Regions from separate parts of the Homo sapiens genome. Here all the other regions are linked to region 1. Evidence: promoter capture Hi-C in 16 types of primary human blood cells and fetal thymus (Javierre and others, 2016). All regions are on one chromosome and are shown on one strand. The core of a region is centred on a gene start or on the middle of the fragment in contact, and the rest is flanking DNA. Distances in the headings are between cores, read along the strand shown.

Evidence for each region. Contacts are between HindIII fragments. The CHiCAGO score rates a contact against its expected background, and 5 or more counts as called.
Region 2: a contact is called between a fragment that was not itself captured here and the fragment with the promoter of MYCBP2 in region 1, in 2 of 17 cell types (non-activated CD4 T cells and total CD4 T cells). The highest score is 8.4, in non-activated CD4 T cells.
Region 3: a contact is called between a fragment that was not itself captured here and the fragment with the promoter of MYCBP2 in region 1, in 1 of 17 cell types (naive CD8 T cells). The highest score is 8.6, in naive CD8 T cells.

The regions. Positions count from the first base shown.
Region 1 is chr13:77,324,553-77,329,168 of GRCh38, reverse strand. MYCBP2 (MYC binding protein 2) reads left to right here and starts at 2,075. Exons shown (of 83, transcript NM_015057.5): 1 at 2,075-2,695. The coding sequence starts at 2,394. It overlaps LOC127898562, which reads left to right and starts at 2,181. Exons shown (of 1, transcript NM_001414702.1): 1 at 2,181-2,264. The coding sequence starts at 2,181. The coding sequence ends at 2,264. It overlaps LOC107984564 (a long non-coding RNA gene), which reads right to left and starts at 2,124. Exons shown (of 2, transcript XR_001749930.2): 1 at 2,034-2,124; 2 at 971-1,905. RefSeq lists enhancers at 1,596-1,925, 3,596-3,775 and silencers at 2,116-2,495, 2,536-2,655. The HindIII fragment of the contact is 13,146 bases long and covers 871-4,616 here.
Region 2 is chr13:72,731,920-72,736,535 of GRCh38, reverse strand. BORA (BORA aurora kinase A activator) reads right to left here. Exons shown (of 12, transcript NM_024808.5): 4 at 1,531-1,576. Among named protein-coding and RNA genes, the nearest start is that of BORA, 6.3 kb to the right of the region's middle. The HindIII fragment of the contact is 192 bases long and covers 2,727-2,918 here.
Region 3 is chr13:72,775,664-72,780,279 of GRCh38, reverse strand. DIS3 (DIS3 exosome endoribonuclease and 3''-5'' exoribonuclease) reads left to right here. Exons shown (of 21, transcript NM_014953.5): 3 at 1,900-2,093; 4 at 2,787-2,860; 5 at 4,188-4,355. Among named protein-coding and RNA genes, the nearest start is that of DIS3, 3.9 kb to the left of the region's middle. The HindIII fragment of the contact is 7,790 bases long and covers 1-4,616 here.

The DNA.
Region 1 (4,616 bases), core at 826-3,325:
CGAAATTAATGAATGGTGGGAAGAGCCCGGAGACCAGGGCAGCCACGCGGGTCAATGTCCACTAGAAACTCTAAATGGGCAGTGACTGCACATTCCACCACCTGAGCCTGCGCTGTAAATGTTTTCTGTGCAAGCAACATTCATTCATTCAGCCAACATCTATTTCCCTCCTGTTCAGGGCTAGACCCTGTGCTAGGAGCCTGTGATGGTTGAACAGACACCATTGCTACCCTACGGAAAACCTAGTGTTTTGTTTAGTATGTGCTACCATTTGTGAAAATTCATGTGCCAAGTTGGACATCCTAGATCCTTTAAGTCCTCCCTCAATCTCATGTAGTGGGTATTCTTTTGAGCATTATTCAGAGGAGATAATTTGCCCAAAGCCAGACAAGTATTAAGTAGCAGAGTCAGGATCCAATTCCAGGGCTGTCTGATTTCAGAGCCTTTTAGCTACCCTGCTAGGTCTTGCAATAGTAATGGGCCCTCTCATTGCTTACCTGTCAGGCCTTAGAATTCTTAGAATTTAGCTGCCTCTACACCATTGTCTTGGTTCTCACTCCAGGGTTAGGGGCTGCCTGGTCAACACTGAGGTCTTTAACTGTGCTGAAGCATTAGGATAGAAATTTAGTCTAATAAATACTTACTGGATACCTACTACATGCAAAGTCCTGAAGTGGCTGAAGGAGACACAAAAGCAGCAAGCTCTGAAGGAACTTAGGTAAGGAAACAAGACAAATACAAAAACTTAACAGGGCTAATTACAGTACTAAAATACTATGATTCCACATGTCTTGTCCTTTGTTCCTATGTTTATCCCACTGCTAATTATCTTTAAAAAAACTAAATGAAATCCATCCATTATTTAAAGCTTCAGAAAAAAATGCATTGCTTTCAGCAACCTTCCACCCTAAAACTAGAATTAATTTACTTTCCTATTCCTTGTTGTTTGCACTTCTCAAACACTAAGGAGGATTTTTTAACATTTATTTTATTTTTTTTTAAGAGAAGGCCATCCGAAGAAGAGGCACAGATATAAGAACTAGTACATAGATGAAAGATACAGTACTGGGATGACAGAACTTATAAATTATTTTGTCAGGACTGTAAATTAGGAAACTCTTCAAATTGAGAGTCAAAGGATAAAACGTAGTAGGAATCAAAGTGCATTGGCACGTATATTTCTAGAGCATATACTTAGATGGGGTTCGTAGGTTAGCTTGGAACAAAGGACTGAGCAAATGTTACTTTTTTATAGACAACAACAAGATATGTGATGGATCTGACATTTTCAGACGCTATACAGTCTCCGTCACAATTATTGTTTCAGATCGCATTCAAGAATTATCTTTAAAAATGTAAGTTTGGGCAGAAAAAAATAAACCATTAAATGACCACTGCCAAGAGATAAAAGTGCACTCTTAGGTGAGTGAGGAGTCAATAAAAAAGAGTAATTTAAAAAATATTATTGCTCCGTTGAGAACAAGAATTTGGGAATGACTCTGGCTTGTGAATACTAGCCTATCTGTTATACTTTCACACACAAAATACTTTCACACACAAAAAAGAATGTGCTAGATTACTACCTGTCTTTGTAAGTAAAAGCTGTGTTAAACAAGCGTAAATCCTAATGACAAAAACCATATAAAATAAGATCGCTAAAGGCACTTCTAATTGGGATGGTTTTCTCTGCCTTAAACTCTGAATTAACCAGCACAATTCACAGTAAATCTTCCTGTTGGCAGCAGAGCCTTGGAGAAGAGGTAGCAGAAGAGCGTGCCACTCCTCCTCTGGCGATGGGCACGTTCCCCCTTGCTTTCTGGTCCTCGTTCTTCCACCTGGAGGGAACCTGAAGTCGAACGTCAGTAGCTGACAGCCTCCCCAGCACTTTCCTTACTCTTCTTCAAGCTGCCAGTAAAACCCGGAGAAGTGGACTACTTCAGATTCCGCACAACCCAACAGCCCCAAACCCAAAGCCCCGAGGCGGAGGGAGTGGTGGCGGAGAGGGGGTGGGGAGGAAAAGGGGCGGCAGTTACTGAGCATGTGCGAGGAGTGGCGCATGCTCTGTGAGGCCGGCAGCTTCCCATTGCGGGTAGCCCCGGCGGTGGTGGCGGTGGTAGCGGTGGTGGCGGCGGCAGTGGCGGCACCGCCTCCTCCTCACATTCCCGGGGTGGCGGGGTTAGATGAGCGGCCCCAGTAGCGGCGAGGGCGGCGCGGGGGGGAGGAGGAGAAGAAGGAGGAGGAGAAGGAGGTCGCTGTCTTTGTAGTCTCCCTGCTGCGGGAGCCAGAGGCCGCCGCCGGAGCCGTCGTCGTTGGAAAAGGGCTGTGTGTGCGCGCGCGTGTCTGCCCGCCCGGCCCGCGGGGACGAGGCGGCGGCGGCGGCGGCGGCGGCGAGGATGATGATGTGCGCAGCGACTGCCTCCCCCGCCGCCGCCTCCTCGGGGCTCGGCGGGGACGGATTCTACCCAGCCGCCACCTTCTCTTCCTCCCCGGCGCCGGGGGCGCTGTTCATGCCGGTTCCCGACGGCTCCGTGGCTGCTGCGGGGCTGGGGCTGGGGCTACCCGCCGCGGACTCCCGGGGTCACTACCAGCTGCTGCTGTCAGGCCGGGCCCTGGCCGACCGCTACCGGAGGATTTATACCGCTGCGCTCAATGACAGGGACCAGGGGGGCGGCAGCGCTGGACACCCAGCCTCCAGGTGCGTCCCCAGGGTGCCCTTCCTTGCGCCCCATGCCGCCCTTCCTTGCGCCCCATGCCGCGCGTGCACCCGCGTGTGTGTGTGCTTGCGTGTGTGTACCTGCGCATTTATTGAGCTTTCAGTCCGCTCTGGATGTCTGTTGGCAGGAGCACTTATCGAGATAGGAGGGTGCGGTGGCTGCAGTTTCTCGTGTGTGTGTGTGTGTGTGTGTGTGTGTGTGTGTGTGTGTGTGTCTGCCTGCCTATGTGGGGGGATAGTGAGGGGTGGTAGGGGAACCTGTGATGCTGGAAAAGGCGATGGTGCTGGTCGGCTGTGACACGTGTGTGTATCGTTGAGGTAGGAGGTGGCATGGGTAGAGAGGGTAAGAGGATGATACACGAAGAGAATTGCAACAGTGGCAAGGGAAGTGGCGTTTTCAGTGTCTCTGCCGCAATGTTATTTGCACGTGCCGCCTCTCCCATGACATTCCTTCCAGCCCTTTCCACCTCCCTTCAATCTGCCTTTCACCAAGAGGAGTCATGGTATAGATTGGTTGAGTTTTGGATAAGCAGGCCCGAGGGATAGGCGTGAGGTTTGCTTTAAAAAGATTTATGAATAAGGGACGCAGATGGAGATCTGTGTGGATGCGAAAGGTGTCTGATAGAGATTTTTAGAGCTGTACTTTGATAACCGGGCCTTTTGGTCTTCTAGAAATGAGGTTGCAGTTACTCTTGTGATCTGATGTCCCATCGGCCATTTCTCTTCATCCTCTGTTCGATTTCCTCTGTTACTTACAGGCTTTAGAGTAGAGAGGGTTTTGTAGGGAAAAGGGGAAAACTGCAGAACTTCAGAATATGACAGCTGGTACAGCGTTCAACTGCCACTAGCTAGAAAATCTGAATAGCGCGTAGATTTGTCTCTTTTACTTGGGTTGGCTACACCTTCAGCTTCCTTGATGTAGATGTTCAGTTGGTTTCATTTTCTTTTTCTTAAAATGTGGGTGCTTTTTTTTGCTGAGGGCTCTCCTATTGTTTTCTTTTCCATGCCCTTACATGCCGCATACCCTGAAGGTTGGTGACTGACTTGTTTCACCAGCTTTGACAGTGGTAATTGGGAGTTGGCTTCATCTTTTTTTTCCCACAGCTTCTTGCAGTACATGGGGAAAACATAGTAGGAAACTGTCAAAATGAGTTAAAGAGTTTACTGTTATTTATTGAATGTGCAATTTATTAGGCAATTGTTAGGTGTCTTTTTCTCCCATTATGAAAGGGACGAGGCTGTAAGTCAGGTATTTGTAGCTTATCACTAGGTATCATGGCTTATCTGTTGGAGACAGTTGTAAAGCTGGAGCTTTGTTCACACTTTTTCTAGGTTAACCAGTTTTCTCATGTCTGTGATTGTTTACAGGATTGGGCACAGCAGTAGTTTTACCATATGGATGTAAACGTGTGTAACTATTTTTTGCTATCTGAACTGAAGGCCAGAATGGCACAAGTCTGTTTCTTGCTAATGCTTTTGAAAATAGCACAAAACTACGTGAGACAGTTTGCCCTGATAATTAGGTATAATTTTGATCTGTAAATCTCTAAATTATGGCACCGCAGGAACATCTTTACAAACTCCTCTCAAAGAATTTAAATTTATTTTGTGTATGGTTTCCAGACTTATGCAATAATTTTTGACTTGTATATTCCTGTTTTGACTTCCTACTACTAGTGTAATATGATTTCTGTGTATCTAGAACTATATTAACGGTTTTAGACAAAATTAACATAGATTAATCATATAACATTTGTGAATGATTTTTTAGCCCTTGGTCCATTTTTGTACAAGCCGTCAATGAAAAGTAATGAAGAATTAGTTCAAGTATTTCAAGAACTACTCATGGAAATCAGCATTATGTTATGATATTGCCTGCTAATGCTTGTTCAACGCAACATTA
Region 2 (4,616 bases), core at 1,573-4,072, 4.6 Mb after region 1:
AAAATTTCTAAGAAAAATCATGAAGCAAAAAAAGGAGGATGCAGTATGAGAACGATAATAGTATGAGAATGATAATCCTATTTGTCGAAAATATTTTAAGGACATATGCTATTAAATAAGTAAAATTAATCTGAAAGTACACATAAGAAATGTTATAGTCATTACCTTCATGAAGTGGGATGGGGAAACAGGAGGCTTTTTATTTTATATTTTTTCTTTTTGTTTTTACTATATGTATATGTTTCTTCTATTTTCAAAAATATATATTGAAAAGAAACAAATTTTCTTAAGTTTACCTGCTGGGTTTCTCTTTAAAATTAAGGATTCTTAAAGAAAGTATTTTTTCAAAATGTTGGAAATTTTGAGAGTCTGAGAATATTCAGGTGGGGAAGAACCAAGTGACTGAGTCAGAATGAAAACTGTGCAGTTACTAGATAGAAGAAGAAGTAGGTAATGTTTAGCAGGAGTAAACATAGTCTTTTGTGGTACGGAAGAGCCAAGTACGGCTAAGGAACAGAGGAGGGTTGAGGGGGCTAGAGGGGCAGAAAAGTAAAAATCAGAAATGCTGCCATCACATAAAGACTTTCTGAGGAAAGAACAAGGTAAGTAACCCTTACTTAGATGCTGGGCCAGGCGCAGTGGCTCACGCCTGTAATCCCAGCACTTTGGGAGGCCAAGGTAGGCGGATCATCTGAGGTCGGGAGTTCGAGACCAGCTTGACCAAGATGGAGAAATCCCGTCTCTACTAAAAATACAAAATTAGCTGCGTGTGGTGGCGCATGCCTGTAATCCCAGCTACTCGGGAGACTGAGGCAGGAGAATCACTTGAACCTGGGAGGCGGAGACTGCAGTGGGCTGAGATCATGCCATTGCACTCCAGCCTGGGCAACAAGAACGAAACGCCGTCTCAAAAAACAAAAAATAATAATAATAATAACCTTATTTAGATGCTAAGAAAGGCAATTCAACAGACATAAAAAAGCAAAAAACTTAATTATTTTTATTTTTTAGAAAGCCTACATTATGATATACCTTTCCTGTTTAACAGTAAGAGATTTTATTTCATGAATATCTTAAAAATCCAAAGTATTAACAAAAAAAGACAAAGCCATTCCCAATGCCAATCTAGACTCTGAAGGCCTGAGAATATTCGACTTCCTCTACATAAACTCCAACTTGAAACAAAGTTTGTGCTAATCAACATTTTGAAGGCACAAGGAAGACAAATTGTGCTAGGTCCTGAGAATGAAAGGATGAAGTACAGTATTGGCCAAAAAAGATTGCGTCTAGGGGACAGAAACACTAAACTGATCATTACAACAGTATGCAAGTGCTATGCAAGGTACTGGGATAGCTGGAAATTATTGGTCTTAGGACAGTACAGAAGGGTGCTTTATATAGATGGGACTGTGAAGGGCTTGGAGGGGAGATAGGACAGTGAAGGAATTGAAGAAAGTCTTCCTAAAAGAAGTGATGTACATGCAGAATTGATCCTTAACTGATTTAATGATCAGTAACAGTTTAAGTTACCTCTTCAATGGCTTTTTGTCTTTTGTCTTCCACATCTTTATCTATTCTATACAAAGATAAAGAAGAAAAATAACCATGCTATTACTTAAGCTTATTGAACATTTTAAAAAATAACCTTTCAAATAAATAATCTCCCTTCATTGAAAACTGGCAAATGTTAAGCTCACTTTATAATTAATACTAGTGGTATCTTGTAACATTTAGTAACATTTAGGCAGTATTCTGAAATTCAGCAGTTAGCTGTTAGGCTTACCTCCCTCTTTTCCATTCAAAGTTTGAATGCAATGATACTTTATTTCAAAAGACTTACATTGATATTAAATTGCTTTTAACAATATAAATTTGATAAACTTTGTCCCTTAATACAAATTAAGAAGTATTTAATTCAACATACATCTAAAAATTGTCCAAAGTTTTTCTCTTCAATTATAACAAGTTTATCATGGCAATAATTTTAGAATCAACTTTTACTGTAAAATAGATGAGGATAGTTCACAGTTCTAAACAGTCAAAAATATTAACTCTGAAATAAAACACTGACAATATAACATTTTTTCCAAATGAATTTTTTTTTCACTTTGATACAATCTGCAATTACTGTTATATAAACTTCTCAGCTACAAGATTTAATATAAAATTTTGGGTCCAAGCACAAAGCATATACTTGCCAAGGACTCAGCAGTTAGCTTTCTAGGACCACTTCTTTATTCCATTACAGGAAAGAATCCTTGCCTTCCATCAGTAAATTGGTAAGACATATTTTTTTTTACAATTTAAAATTATTTTGTCTCAGAATTTTTTCTTTAACTTTTATTTTAAGTTCAGGGGTACAAATGCAGGTTACACAGGTAACTTGTGTCACTGGGGTTTGTTGTACAGATTATTTAATCATCCAGGTATTAAGTCTAGAATCCATCAGTTATTTTTCCTGATCTCCCTCCTCTCACCCTCCACCAGGCCCCAGTGTGTGCTGTTCCCCTCTATATGTCCACATGCTCTCATCATTTAGCTCCCACTTATAAGTGAGAACATGAGGGGTTTGGTTTTCTGTTCCTGTATTAGTTTGCTAAGAATAATGGCCTCCAGCTGCATCCATGTCCATGCAAAGGACGCGATCTCATGCTTTTTGTGGCTGCATAGTATTCCATGGTGTGAATTTTTTTCACATATAGACTTGCTCATGGCTTAATAAAGCTTATATGAGAATGTATACATTTCAGAAATTAAGTAGATTTTTCAAGTGGGAGAAGTATGAGAAAATAAACTACAGTGTCAACCCACATATCCCAGCTTGAACAGTAGCCATTTTGAGGATAACAAAATGGCCTTCATCTTATCAATGGTTCTCTTCATCTTATCATGGTCAAAATGGCAGCACATAACAAGCTTAGCAAATAGCAAGTAAGCTCTGAACTAGGATTACTGCATTCAGAAACCTTTTGCTACTTCATCAGAGGGACTTCAAGAACATGAAATACTCAGGTGATTGCTGGAAACTGTAAAAATCACTGTGGCCAAATACTCTAGAGTCAGATCAAACAAGATTCTAAGAAGTCATACAGGGGAGAGCATCCTGACCAGCATACCACTGAACACCAGTATGATGCATATAGGTATAGGTGTGGCCTGAATGTTGAGCCTTTGCAGGGTGGCAAAGGAGAGGGGACCTCAGGACTGGTCACCTACATGGCCAAGACTCACCTGCTTACACTGGTATGCTTTTCAGTTACAATTTTCTGTGTGGATGGTGGCATGAAAAGGATGGGAAGAATTGAAGTAGAGGGCTAATATGTAAGAAGAGATACTGAAAGACACTGCTTGTTTCTAAGGATGAAACGAGATGCTCTGTGAAGAATATATTGACTATCCTTGGTAGAAGCCATAACCATTCATTGAATTATATTATTAAATTAAATTATAATATTTTCCCACTCTTTTCCATTCTTCTATATGATAAATCTATGTACTAAGAGACACCAAGATTATCTTTATAAACCTTTGCAGACAATATATCATTTAGTAGTAAGAACAGAAGCACTGTGTTACAACTTTGGTCTAATTATATTTTTGACTCTTGACTCTTAGTATCTTGTACTTCTTCAGTGTTTCTTACAGTCCCTCACAGTACTCAATAAGTATCTCTTGACTGATCAATATAATAATTGTCCATCATTCAATATATTGAAGAAATGAGACAAAATAATTAAGCATAATTAAGTTCGTGTGAAACAAAAAATTAGTCACTGTGACTCATTTGCTTTTAGATATTCATCTCACCTTCTCTTTCAAAGGTATTATTTATTTACTTATTTATTTATTTTATTTTTTTGAGATGGAGTCTTGCTCTGTCCCCCAGGCTAGAGTGCAATGGCATGATCTCAGCTCACTGCAACCTTTGCCTCCTGGGTTCAAGCGATTCTCCTGTCTCGGCCTCCCGAGTAGCTGGGATTACAGGTGTGCACCACCATGCCCGGCTAATGTTTTTGTATGTTTAGTAGAGATGGGGTTTCACTATGTTGGCCAGCCTGGTCTTGAACTCATGACCTCAAGTGATCTGCCCGCCTCAGCCTCCCAAAATGCTGGGATTACAGGTGTGAGCCACCACACCTGGCCTCAAAGGTATTATTTAAATTTAAGTTAAAATCCTTTCATGCTTCATCCTCATTCTATTCCCTTCCTATTAACACTCTGGGTGGACATTAATTTTATGATTGAATGGTCATCATGTTACCAAGCAAAGAGAAGATGGAGGAGAAAAGCCAGTAAGTATTTACCAGAATATCTCAATATGTGTGCAACGTTGTGTGACTGAATTCTTAAGTCAAAGGGAAAAGGATTATCCTTTGTTTTGGACTAACAACATGTCTACCTTAGGACAGCAAATTAAAATCTGGTCATACCATGTATTTGATTTTTTTCAAATATTAAAAAATCAGACTATAAAACATATAAACAAGAGTCCCTAAAACTACAAAAGAATAATAGGACCTTACACTTTGTAATAAAAAACTAAATCTGCAGTACATTAGTGCCTTGAAACCTAAACAACACATCAACAAATAAGACTGCACTGGGTGATATGTAGA
Region 3 (4,616 bases), core at 1,459-3,958, 4.5 Mb after region 1:
ATCTCTGCTCACTGCAACCTCCACCTCCCAAGTTCAAGCGATTCTTCTGCCTCAGCCTCCTGAGTAGCTGGGATTACAGTCACGCACCACTATGCCAGGCTAATTTTTGTATTTTTAGTAGAGACAGGGTTTCACCATGTTGGTCAGGCTGGTCTCGAATTCCTGACCTCGTGATCCACCTGCCTCAGCCTCTCAAAGTGGTGGGATTACAGGCATGAGCTACCGTGCCTGGCCAGGAATATAATTCTTTGTTGTGCTTTTAGATTCAAGACCTTTGAACTCAGTGTGTGGTCTCAAAAATATGATATTGCCTATTACGTTATATTACATAAATAATCTATGATGAGTATGGTACTTTTATTGGATTAGATCAGGGCTTCTCAATCTTGGCATTATAGATATTTTGAACTGAATAATTTTTTTGTGGTGGAAAGGCTGTTTTATACATTGTAGTATGTTTAACAGTGTTCCTAGCCTATTTGGCAGGATCACCACCCCTTACCCCCCCCACCACCACCACCACCACCACCACTCAGTTGTAATGATACAAAATGCCCTGAGGGGTGAATTCACTCAATTGAGAACCATTGGATTAGAGTGTAGACTTCTGGTAATGAAATTCCATCAGATTATGCACATTTTTAAAAACCTTAATATCTCAACTTTCTTGATTCTTATATCTCAAACTTCAATGTTCTTGTAAAGAATACCAGTAAAGCCCTTGTAGGCTTCTTATTGTTAGTACCTCCTTGAAATCCAGAAATAGCAACATCACTTGTTTTTCAGTGCAGAAAGACCCAAGTTTAAAACCAATTCAAAAATTTATGACTGTGTCTTTCACTGATGAGCTTAAAACATTAGCAGCTGGGCGTGGTGGCTTATGTCTGTAATCCTGGCACTTTGGGAGGTTGAGGTGGGCAGATCACTTGAGGCCAGGAGTTCCAGACCAGCTTAGCCAACCTGGAAAATCCCTGTCTCTTAAAAATACAAAAATTAGCTGGTTATGGTGGTACATGCCTCTAGTCCCAGCTACTTGCGAGGCTGAGTTGGGAGGATCACTTGAACCCGGAGGTAGAGGTTGCAGTAAGCTGAGATCATGCCACTGCACTCCAGCCTGAGCTACAGAGCAAGACTCTGTTTCAAAAAAAAAAAAAAAGCATTAGCAAGTGCATTCAACGATGAGGAATAAAATAATTCTAAAACTATTAATATAAATCAAATTATTAAATTGAATCTATTACCATTAAGTACTGGAAGCTATTGTAGTGAACTTTGCTGTTGTACTTAAACCTGGCTTTGATGAACAGATTTAAAGAAATAGATGAATGTGTTGACATACTTGGGAGTTTAGATAGAAGAAATACGTAATATCTATTAATATACCTGACTTTTCAGTCTCTACATAGCTTCAGCTATTAGTGTTTACCATGGATAATTTATATGCATTATTTATTAATGACTGTAGAATTCTGATTATAAATGATCTAATTATACTATTTGTAGCTTTTAGGAATTGCTATTAACCTACAGTTTGAATGAAATCTGATTATCATACCTGTGAAATTGTATTATAATTTGTCAACAAACTATTATTTAGTGTCTCAACCTAAAGTATAAATTCTGATCTTGAATTTTTCTTTTTAGGAAATAAAATTGTATTAGCCTTTTTCTTGTCCCCTTAATAACATAATTTTCTTCTTTTCCAAGCAAATTGTTTCTTAAAAACTTAATTATAAGAATCTTGATTTCTTCTCTGAGGTGTACATCTGAATACATTCAAGAGAAAAGATATACCATTGACTTTTTCTAGTTTAGTGGTTAAGCATTTATGTGCTAAGAGTTTTCACATATCCTTGTTTCTACTGATTTCCTTTTATTTCGTTTTTTCTTTCCATTTAGAGAAACCTATGTAGAACAAGAACAGGGAGAAAATGCTAATGACAGGAATGATAGAGCGATTCGAGTAGCAGCAAAATGGTACAATGAACATTTGAAAAAAATGTCAGCAGACAACCAGCTGCAAGTTATCTTCATAACAAATGACAGGAGAAACAAAGAGAAAGCCATAGAAGAAGGAATACCAGCTTTCACTTGTAAGTCTAAATGTAGAAGTACTTAGTGCATGTTTGCAAATGCGTGTAAAAATAATCATTAGGCCTATAGTCAGATGTTCACTTTACTATTTAGTATTTTCGTAGTCCTATATAACTTCATGTGATATTTTTGTATTTTTAAATTTCACATAGTTTTTAACCTAAATATGTTGTGCCCAGTGGCTGTTAATTTTCCCCTCACTATTTGCAACTGGTTTAGCAATGAAATCTCATAAATATACTGGAACCCCTGCTTCTGCTTAGGTATGATCACATCAACAGATTTTTGGGTTTTGTTTTTTAAATAAATTGAGGCCAGGTGCTGTAATCCCAGCACTTTGGGAGGTCAGGGCAAGAGGCTTGCTTGAGACCAGGAGTTCAGGACCAGCCTGGGCAACATAGGGAGACTATAGCTCTACAGGAAAAAAAAAAAAAGCCGTGCATGGTAGTATGTAACTATAGTCCCAGCTACTCGGGAGGCTAAGGCAGGAAGGTAGCTTGAGCCCAGGGATTCTAGGCTGTAGTGATGTGTAATTGCGCCGCTGCACTCCAGCCTGAGAGACAGAGTGAGACTCTCAGTGTGTCTCAATGAATGAAAGAATGACGTGTATACTGTCGCAAACAAGACTATCCATTTTTTTCATATCTAAGGAAAAAACACTTATCAAAAACAACATAAACTTATTTTTTCAGGTGAAGAATATGTAAAGAGCCTAACTGCTAACCCCGAACTCATAGATCGTCTTGCTTGTTTGTCTGAAGAAGGGGTATGTTTTTGTTTTGTTTTTGAAAAGTAAAAATATTAAAATAGCCACTTTGGAATATTAGGCATATAGTTACCAAATTTAAAAATTGGAATGTCGGTGGGTAAGCTGGATTTGGAATAGTTGTGTTATAAACAGGAGTGGATGTCATAGGCTTATTGAAATGCCATTCCTAAAGGAGTTAACTTTCTAAAATAGATATATTCCCATTAACCTGAGTAGGGCCTGGTACCTGGTAGCACTGTTTGGTTGAGGAAAAAATGAACGGAGTCCATGGCTGATTTGTGAATAAAGAGTAGCTGCTGACAAATGAAGTGGCAGGCACTGCAGACAGAGGAAAGAAGAGGGAGGGGAGTGTCCAGATAGTAAAGACCTAGAACTTATTCTGTAGGTTAGTAATTTTTCAATTGATTTATAAAGATCTCCCTGAAGGGCTGCTATGAAGAGGAAAGGATTCTGAGATCCCTTCCTTATATGTCAGGCTAAGAAAAAGTAATGGTATATGAATGTGGATTGGTGGAGCAGGAGAGAATGATTGGAAATGGTATTTGTTTGTAAGACCACTCTCATGTCAGTGTGTAACATTAAGCATTTTATCCAGGAAAGATTAGAGGCAGAGAGGTGAGTAAAGGAGTCATTACAATAGCTGATGTGAGAAGGAGTGCTAAGGGAATAATTAAATTCTGAGCATTCATTTTCTTATATATAAATATATAATGTTTAGCAATAATAACTTCATAGTGTTGTTATAAGGATCAAATAAGATGATAACTGTAGCATTAATACAATTTTCATCCTAGTGCCTGGCACATAGGTATGGTAAATATAAATGGTAGCCCTTGTTATAGAAATAGGTTTTAAGTGATAGGACATTATACATAAATCCAGTCTTTACACTTCTGTCATCCCTTCTTACCTTTATGATACTTTATGAAACCAAAAGGAAATGAGAAGATAAAAGTTGGGTTTGATTTTTGAAATACAGATTTAGTATTGCCCTAATATGTAGCCACTTAGTTATATATGACTATTTAAATTTAATATGTATTAAAAATTCAGTTTCTTGGTGGTACTATCTGTCTTTCAAGTGCCCAAGAGAAACTTGTGTCTAGTGGCTACCATATTAGAGATCGCAAAATGAATACTTCCTTCATCATAGAAAGCTGTTTTTGTTAGCACTGGCCTATAAGAAACACTGCTATCTTCTCTCCTATTCAGAGTTGTGTATATCATAATGTAGATTTCAAAAATTCTCTGATATTAATAATAGTTGTGTATTGAGTGAACAGAAGACTTATTAGCGGCATCTTTTGGTTTGCTTCTTTCATAGAATGAAATAGAAAGTGGAAAAATAATATTTTCAGAGCATCTTCCCTTAAGTAAGCTACAGCAAGGCATAAAATCTGGTACATACCTTCAAGGAACATTTAGAGCTAGCAGGGAAAATTACTTGGAAGCTACAGTATGGATTCATGGCGACAATGAAGAAAATAAAGAGGCAAGTATATAAATAAATTCCTTATACACTAAAATAAAGATGATATTTTATATATTATGAACACTTAATGGTAAATACTATTTGTGTAACATATGAGGCTTCACATACTTTAAAGCAAATAGTAACTTTTTTCTTTTTTTTTTTGCAGTGCTCACAATTTGTCAGGTAGTTTTTTAAATCTTTGCGCATGGCATTTCATTTAATATTCAACCCAACCTATAAAAACTAGGTAGTGTACTCTTATTTGACCAATCAGGACTT